Linked DNA regions of Homo sapiens: regions 1 and 2 are each linked to region 3. The links are contacts of gene promoters, found by promoter capture Hi-C in human tissues and cell types (Jung and others, 2019). All regions are on one chromosome and are shown on one strand. Each heading gives the region's core, a stretch centred on a gene start or on the middle of the fragment in contact. The rest is flanking DNA. Distances are from core to core; before and after follow the strand shown.

Region 1 (2,800 bases), core at 251-2,750, 120 kb after region 3:
GAGAGAACTGAGATGTGTCAGAGGAATTTCTACTGTATTCCTGCCTACTGAGGAGCTATTTAATCCCATTATTATAAAATAAATAATCCGCTCTTTGACTTTAGATTAATATATTTGTGAAATGCTGTTTTTTTCATTTTGCAACTTTTTAAACATTTAAACATTATAAAAATAGAAGTTATCATCTAACAAGAGCTCACTAAATGCCAAGCACCTACCCAGCACATTACCCTCCTCATCTCATTCAATGCTCACGATGATCCTACAAGGTAGAAGCTATCATTATTCCCATTTTATAGAGGCTGAAGCCAAGTTTGAAACTGGTTAGGGTCATTGCTCAAAGTTGTCTAGTCGCTAGGTGTTGGGGGAGGGGGATTCAAGCCCGTGCAGTGTGGCCCAGAACCAATGTCCACACGGAGAGATTTAAAACGACCCTGGGGGGAAACGGAAAAAGGAAATGCAGATGAGCACCTACTATGTGCCGGCTGCTACATGAGGTTCTGTCCTATACATGATCCCATTTATTCCCCACTATAATTCTCTTGAGATAGGTGTGGACAGACCCATTCACAGGTGAGAAACTGAGGCTCAGAAAAGACAAGCAACTCGCCCAAGGTGCCATAACTGGATCATCGTCTCAGACCCAGGTGCCCTGACCCCAGAACCCAATGCCTTCTAGGCTATAGTCAGCACCAAACCCCAGCCTGGCTTACCCCAGCCTGGCTTACACGCTGTCACAGACACTGCTCCTTGTGCCTTAAACCCATTCTCCCTGTGACCTGTAACTGAACACACAGCCAGCAGGATAAAGGCCACAGCTCCCAGCCTCCCTTGCAGCTACACGTGGCCAGGCAACCACGCTCTGCTCAATGGGATGTGTGGAGAACTTCCAAGCAGTGCCCTCGGGAGGAAGGGTGTGGCTCTCCTTCCCCTTTAAGTCTTCTGGTTGACCAGAGTGAGTAGGAGGTGAAAAACCAGCCTGGTCCATGAGGACCAAGGCAGCAGAGCACCCTAGAGAAGGTGGGAACAGGTGCAGAAGGAGCTGAGGCCCCATCCACCAAGGAGCCACCACACCCATTCTAGACTAGCACACCAGATTTGTGATGTGAGAAGCCTGTTTCTATCTTGTGTGAGTCACTATTGAGTCTGTGAAAACAGCCCAATGCACACACCTATTAGAACACACAGAGGCCAGTTTTGAAGTCAGAGCAAGTGCAGCATCTGAGGCAGCAGATGCCCCATCAGCAGGGGTTGCTTCCCTTTGAGACAGGCTGTAGTGACTAAGCCCACAGCTCTACCTGCTGTTACAGACTTGACACTTGTCCTTGGTTAAGCTTAGCTGCTCTCACTTCAGCTAGGCCCCAAGGATTCACGGGCTGATGCTACTCCGTTGGCACTGCCAGTCCCAGCCAAGCCAAGGCTCTGCTGCATGTGGGCACCACAGAGGCCCCTCCACCCTCCTTGCCTCCATCCTCACCCAGCCCCTCCCCTGCCATTGGCCATTCCCCGCACAGCTGGCTCAGTGAGCTCCTCAGAGGGACCTGGACCTTGCTGTCTGCAAAGCTCCCCATCAAGCTTGCACTTAAGCCTCAACCCCTTATGGTGGCCTCCAAGGCCCTTCCAGATCTGGCCCTGCCCATCCTGCAACCTCACCTCCTACATCACCTCCACTGGCCAATGAAATGAACAGTCCCAGAAACTGCCAAGAGAATGCCCTGCTCCTTCCAGTTTCCCACGCCTACTGTTTCTGGGCTACTATCCCTGAGGTCTTCCTTGGGTACAGGAGGATACAGGAAGCCCATCCTTACTGGGCCTACTTTAGCCCTCCTGCATCCCACTCTCACCTCCCAGACACTGCTACAGAAGGACAGGCTCTTCCCAGAGCCCTGGCCGGGACTCACCTCTATCACTGTAGTCATCTACAAGGATCACTTCTTCTAGCAGGATATCCGGGGATGTCTCAAGGACACTGTAAACTGTCCGAAGGAGAGTTGACCAGGCTTCATTATAAAATGCTATGATAACAGATGTCCTGGGCAAATTATCATAATCATATTTCTTCTCTTTGCACCTGCAAATACAGCGGAACTTCAGGAACTCAGGATCTAGCCCAGGCTGGCACTGGGGATGGAGTGACAAAGGGGACATAGGTCATGGTCCCCTGCGGAAGGGGACATAATCCACTGAAGGATCTTCCAGAGCTCCCCTTGTGGCACTAGGAGCCCCAGCAGACTCCAAGAAAGGTCCTAACCATGGCACCCACCTAGCTTTTACTGTGGGATATTGTTTTAAGCTGTCAAGCAACTTTTTGATTTGAGCAACATACAAACGAGACAGAATCAGAAGGAAGGGAACTGGCACGTCTTCCTTCCCCATCGCCCTCCTTTCTGTCTACTCTGCCCCAGTCTCACTCCCAGGCCTTTGCTCAGACTGTTCCCTCTGCCTGGAATGCCCCTTCCTCCCTTCTGTACTTGGCAAGCTCCCAGCTCAGGCCTGTTCTCCTTTGTGAAACGCCTGGGACCACGTATCTTGGGCAGTTGCTGTCTCCTCAATGCTCCTCCAGCACCCGGCCCACCTCCATCTCAGCATGCACCACTGACAGTATTCTGAGTCCTCATGTACCACTGTACCACTCCCTACCCTCTCCCAGCATCCAATACTGTCTAGGCTTAGCAAAGGTGGTGTCCCAAATGCATAAACTAGAATTGTGGCTAGGACCTACAGACACTCCAGGAAGGACTCTACAGAGGACATTGGTTACCTCCCCCAAATCCCCGCTGCCACCTGCCCCCCAAGATGT
Region 2 (2,748 bases), core at 213-2,712, 95 kb after region 3:
TCATATTGACTTAATCAGGTTGACAAAATCTCAGGGTTGGTCTGGGATCATTCACAAATCAGAATTACTCAGAGAAATTTTCACAGCAGTTGCAGCAGCACAAACTCTAACGCTGATTTAAATTAATAACTGTTATTAATGAACAAACTTGAAAAAGGAATTTCATATAGAACATTACATTTCTCCCTGACACTACCGTATCATAAAAATTAAAAATGATATAAACATGTTTTAAAGTCATAGTGGTAGAACCAGCCACACTACAGTGCGGCATTGTTAGAAGTTCGCTCTCAAGTTGACTCAGCTTAGTAAAGCAAATTGTTCTCTGAGATTTCAGCTTTGGTTAGTCCTCTTTGGCTGACATGAACATTATGGAGTGTTAACTGTGGTAGCAACACATAACCAAAAAGCATTCTTTTTAAAATACATCTAGAAGATCTCAATGACCTGAATAAATCAATACAATGTTCCTAGTGACAGTCTCTCTATACTGGGAAAACTTTAACCCCGCAGCTGAGGTATTATCAGTTAATGCAAAGTACGTTGCTTGAACCTGATTTCCACCCATGCAGATATCTTCGTACCTGGGAATTCTTGTAAATACCAAAATAAAATCTTTATCTTTTTTGCTAATGAGAGTAAAAGGCACGACTGTAAAATATACATCTTGATAGAAAAATATTATAAGGTTTTAATTTTCTAAATACCAAGGGTTAACATCTTACGATTACCCTTTGAAAATAGGGTATTTTGGAACATTTAAAAAGTTCTCAAAATAAGTACAAAGCTTATTCACATTTTTACTAAATCCAACACAACTTTCACAAATGGCAAAATGATTGCCTCTTCAAAGCAATGCAGCCTAGTTTTTGGTGGGTTCTGGTCACTGCTTAGCTAAGTCTTTGTTGGGCAGAGTCCTGGCTCCACAGTCTCCTTCGATGGGCTCCTTGATACACGAGGCTTCATAACATGCGCTCTTTGAAGAACCATTTCTGATGATCCGAGTTGGTGCAGTCTCGTAAGAGTGGAACGAAACTGTCACTCGACTCCTTCCTCGCAGCCTGGACACATTTCTTGGACTGTTCGTGAAATAAAGATCCATCCTACAAAAGATAACAGAATGACAGGCAAGTCATCAGAAAAGTCTCTTTTTCCTAAAGACATGTTTTAAAGAGATCAGGGTCTGATTTTTACCATTTCAGAAATATTTATTGAGGGGTAAGTGTCTTCCGTGTAACGCAGCAACTCAGGACTGTCCCGGGGACACAGCACCAGGCTTGTACAGGCTGCGTCCCGCTTGCCTCTCACAGGACCGATGGTGCCACCTGCTGGCTGCTCTGGGCATGTGTCATACCCTACATCTCCCTATTGCATTTGGCTTCCTTCAGGGAAATCAGGAACAAAGATCCTTTGTTTATCTCTTTCACTCCTCTTAGGTCAACTCATTCCGTGCAGGGTGATCTCTTTCTCTTAGGTATTTAAACAGAGTGTGGAAACTTGGCTGTAGTCCCAGCTCAGCCACAGACCAGATGGATGAGGAAGCCAGTCACTTGGCCTGAGCTACTCACCTGTCACACATCAGAGAATCAGTGGGTTATATGCCTTGTGCCAATTCCCAAACCCCAAAGACGATGGTCTTCTTTAATGACCTCCTGCTTCTCTCCTTTCTGCCAGCCCTTGCTCAATTATCTCAGCAAGTCTCTCTCTCAGGCCTGGTGTTTATCTTTTCCCTCTGCCTCTCTGTTATAAGCTGTATGCAACGAACTTAATCATGGCTGAGCAGCAAACAGGCAGAGTGAATAACAACATCAGTGAAAAACCTTTGTGATGTGCTGTTCACTAAATGGAACTTTTTTCATTCAAAAAAATCCAAACTCATGTTTTGTAGAATCCAAGAAATGACATTTCAGAGGTTTTTAGGCCTACATAAGAAAATACAAGGCTGGGCACAGTAGCTCACGCCTGTAATCGCAGCACTTTGAGAGGCTGAGGCAGGTGGATCACTTGAGGCCAAAGAGCTCAAGACCAGCCTGGCCAACATGGCAAAACTCCATCTCTACTAAAAATACAAAAAATTAGCTGGGCGTGGTGGCGGGCGCCTGTAGTCCCAGCTACTCAGGAGACTGAGACAGGAGAATCGCTTGAACCCAGGAGGCAGAGGTTGCAGTGAGCTGAGATTGCACCCCTGCACTCCAGCCTTGGTGGAGCAAGGCTCCGTCTCAAAAAAAAAAAAAAAAAAAAAAGATCCAGCCCTAAGAACTAAGCTTTCTATTATGGTCTAGTGAATATAAGTGGGGACATTTCCTTCAGAATTCACATATGTTTCTGTTCAATATATATTTGTTTTATATATATATATTTAGGGCATGACTGATGAAATATAATAAATCAAGCTGTATCCTTTTCACATATGAATCAAAGTATTAAGCGTCCTGAAGAAAGGTAAAAAATCCAATTCAGTATCCTTCTTCCCAGCCTCCTGAACAAACTTCCTTTTCCTTAAATGGTCACTGAAATTTAAGATAAAATTTTTGATATGTCAAACTGATTTTATTGTTTCTAGTGTCCACTACCATTCCTTGAGGGCTTACAATGGCTTCTGGTTGGGAGAAAGATGGGAAGAGGAGGACATTCAAGAAGATCAGAGACGTCTGGGGTGTGCAGAAGTATTTTTCCTTCTTATTTTCCTGTATTCAATAGGTAACACCATGGTGTGTGGCTTTTCTGGGCAGCCTGCAAATGTCATTG
Region 3 (2,945 bases), core at 47-2,546:
AAATAAAAATAAAAATACTTGCATTGCTTTCCAACACATAGTTACTGCAAGAATCAAGCAGTAATTTCTATCACTTATTTTGTGCCTAGTATATACTGGAATCATGGGAAGCACATTATTTCTAATTTCTCTAATATTCACAACATTTCTAGGAAGGTAAAATGGTCTAATTAATCGCCTTTTTCAGATGGGGAAACTGAGGCACAGAGCGATGAAATCCATTGCCCAAGATCACTCAGCCAGCCACAGTTCAAACCCAGGCAGTCTGACCTTAACCGAGGCCCATTTTAACTTAGGTCTACTTTAACTTATATCTTACTATTCAGCCAACCGCCTGAGTTCTGCTGGAGAAACTGAGGCCCGGGGAACGGAAGGGATCAGATCTCTGGCTTCCAGGCCACAGCTCTTTCCACCACCGGTGGAGCCACTGCCCATGATAGACGTGACCGCTTAGGTAACTCAGAGCTGGGTTAAGCAACCGAGCAATTCAGTTCCGTTATTTCTTGAGCAGCAAAAGCCCCAGATGTCCCTCCCGGTGTTCATGCTTCGCACCTGTGTGCGGAGAGGCACCAGACCTGCCCTTACCAGAAGCCAGCCAGCACGCACAACCTAAGCTGCTGGCGCTGGGTGCGCTGAGGCTGTTGGCGCTGGCGCTGGCGCTGTTTCTGAAGTCCCTCTCTGCCTAAGATTGGAGGCTCCGCACCCAGCTCAGACATCTCGGGTGCCCAGACAACGCTCCAACCGCCCCAGCTGCCCAGGGATCCCATTCACAGCTATAACCCCTGCACTGCCAGGAGGTAGCCGCCCGCGGGACCGCCAGTGCGCACTGAGTGGCAAGACTCCCTTTTATGTCCAGGAATGAGGCACGCATCGCAGCCGCGTCCGCCGCCAAAACCGACTTCCCCCACGGGCGCGGAGGCAGCCGGTGCCACCCTCCGACCGGGTTGCTTACCTGTCGCACCGCGGGTCTGGGTGACAGCAGGGAGGGGCGTGGAGACCGAGAGCAGCATCAGCAGACACCAGCACTGCCCGTTGTTCCTCCTGCAAGATGTGCCCGAGGGAGAAAAGGTGAGGCGGGCAAGAGTATTGGAGGGGCCCGGGACGCGAGGAAGCAGAGAAGCGGGTCTTACCTTGGTGCCATCTCGCGGGTCTGCGGAGCCCCGGAAGGCGCGCGGCTAGTCGAGCAGAGCGTTGGAGCTTAGCGGAGGACGAAGGGTCGCTGAGCGCTGGCCGCCGCGCTCGCCCTTCCTGCAGGGAACAAAGGCGGCGCTCGGCAGCGGCGGCGGCGGGCAGAATCCCGGCTCCCGGCCCGCGCCCCGAGTCACCCGCGCTCTGAAACCCGACTCCGCCGCGCCCTGCGCTCCCCCGCGCGCTGCGCACTCACGCCCGGGGGATACCGGCCGCCCCGGCCGCCTCCCCACGCCCCTTTCCCCCTCGACGGACGTGCGCTCGCCTCTGCTGCCTCCACCCGCGGCTGCCTTATGTAACCTGCGAGGAAAGCCCCGCGCCCGCGTTCGTTGGGGCAAGCGGGATGGGCTCCCTCCCGCCCTTAAGTCTGTCCTGTCGGGGCTGACCCGCAAGAAAGCACTCTTTCACAGCCGCTGAGGGAATCCTCTCCACAGCCCAGGAAGGCTGGAATCAGTGATTTCCTTATATGATGGACAAGGAGACTGAGGCTCAGAGAGGTGGAGCGTATGTCCCAAAGTCCCAAGCTGCACTGAGCTCCTAGATGCTGTGACCCACCCTGCACGCCTGACACATGGACCGACTTGAATGCCCAGGAGTGGACCTGCCTGGGGGCCATAAGGGATACATACAACTAAATGCAGCAGAGATAATCCTAATAAAAGTTTTTAATGTACTGGATTCCAGGGCTTTCCTCCCTATGTATACCTTGCCTGCCCCCTTCATCAGAATGTAAGCTCCAGGAGGGCTTATCTGTGCTTTGTTCCCTGCCTAAAACAGCTCAGGTAGTAGGAGATGCCAATAAACGCTGGATGAATGAAGGAGCACAGTCTTGGGTGAGGCATCACACCAGGCCCTGTGATGAGATGTGGGGGTCATGAACCAGGCTCTGCCTCCGAAAGCCCTCAGTGGGAGTGAGGCGGTTCAGGGCAGACTAACCCATCTGTGCAGAGCTTATCGCAGGGCACTGGGTAAACCCTCAATGGTCGCTTTTTATTAAGATTACCACCCGGCACATAGTGTGAGATCTTGGAGTGAGAAGAGGCACCGCTGAAGTTGGCTGAGACCTGGACAGCTCTGAAGCCAGGTAAACACTAGAAACCTCTCTTCCTGAAGCACCAAGTAGCCACAGTGGGCCGTGGCTCTGTGGTCAGTTCCTGTGTTTGATTCAGTTCCACTCTAGAGGATGGGTCACCTCTTGCCAAGTGAGTTAGCCTTGCAGAGGAGATGGCATGGGAATGGATATAAGCAACTAATGCTTACTTGGTGTGGATTATGTCCCAAGCCCTCTGCTAAATGCTTTAGCTGTGTTATCTCATTTAATACCCACAACAGCCATGGAAAGGTGATACTGTCATGATCCCCATTTCATAGATAAGAAAGCTGAGGTTCAAAACATTCCAAGGCTAATGAATGGCAGATGCAACACCCATGCTCCTCCCCACTCAGCCATGCTGCCTGCCAGTAAGCAAGAAGATTAGACTCACTCTCCACCCTCAAGAGCAAAATCGCAGTGGAGACACAGAGCACTCGGATATGAAAGGGTTCATGCCAGCCTGGGCGGTGAGGGCTCAGAGGAGGGATGGTTGGCCTGGAGATCAGGAGTCTGGGTTCCAGTCCAATGCTGGCCCTGGCTGCAGGGTGAAGTTGGGCAAATCTTGCCCTTGGTCTGATTTTTTATTTCTCCACCTGGATAATGGACACAACTACCTTGAATTGAATGGTGGCTGTGAGTCCCTTGATGGGACCACCTACTGGTA

The links. Contacts are between HindIII fragments. The study calls those that stand out against the background at their distance.
Region 1: a contact is called between a fragment that was not itself captured here and the fragment with the promoter of COL15A1 in region 3, in 2 of the 25 tissues and cell types used here (mesendoderm cells and thymus).
Region 2: a contact is called between a fragment that was not itself captured here and the fragment with the promoter of COL15A1 in region 3, in 6 of the 25 tissues and cell types used here (H1 embryonic stem cells, adrenal gland, bladder and 3 more).

The regions. Positions count from the first base shown.
Region 1 is chr9:98,822,527-98,825,326 of GRCh38, reverse strand. GALNT12 (polypeptide N-acetylgalactosaminyltransferase 12) reads right to left here. Exons shown (of 10, transcript NM_024642.5): 2 at 1,902-2,071. Among named protein-coding and RNA genes, the nearest start is that of GALNT12, 16 kb to the right of the region's middle. The HindIII fragment of the contact is 3,177 bases long and covers 1-2,800 here.
Region 2 is chr9:98,847,307-98,850,054 of GRCh38, reverse strand. It overlaps GALNT12 (polypeptide N-acetylgalactosaminyltransferase 12), which reads right to left. Exons shown (of 10, transcript NM_024642.5): 10 at 1-1,103. The coding sequence ends at 963. Among named protein-coding and RNA genes, the nearest start is that of GALNT12, 41 kb to the right of the region's middle. RefSeq lists an enhancer at 1,114-1,408. The HindIII fragment of the contact is 4,468 bases long and covers 1-2,748 here.
Region 3 is chr9:98,942,258-98,945,202 of GRCh38, reverse strand. It overlaps COL15A1 (collagen type XV alpha 1 chain), which reads right to left and starts at 1,296. Exons shown (of 42, transcript NM_001855.5): 1 at 1,131-1,296; 2 at 953-1,041. The coding sequence starts at 1,141. COL15A1-AS1 (COL15A1 antisense RNA 1) reads left to right here and starts at 551. Exons shown (of 1, transcript NR_198999.1): 1 at 551-2,945. The HindIII fragment of the contact is 13,688 bases long and covers 1-2,945 here.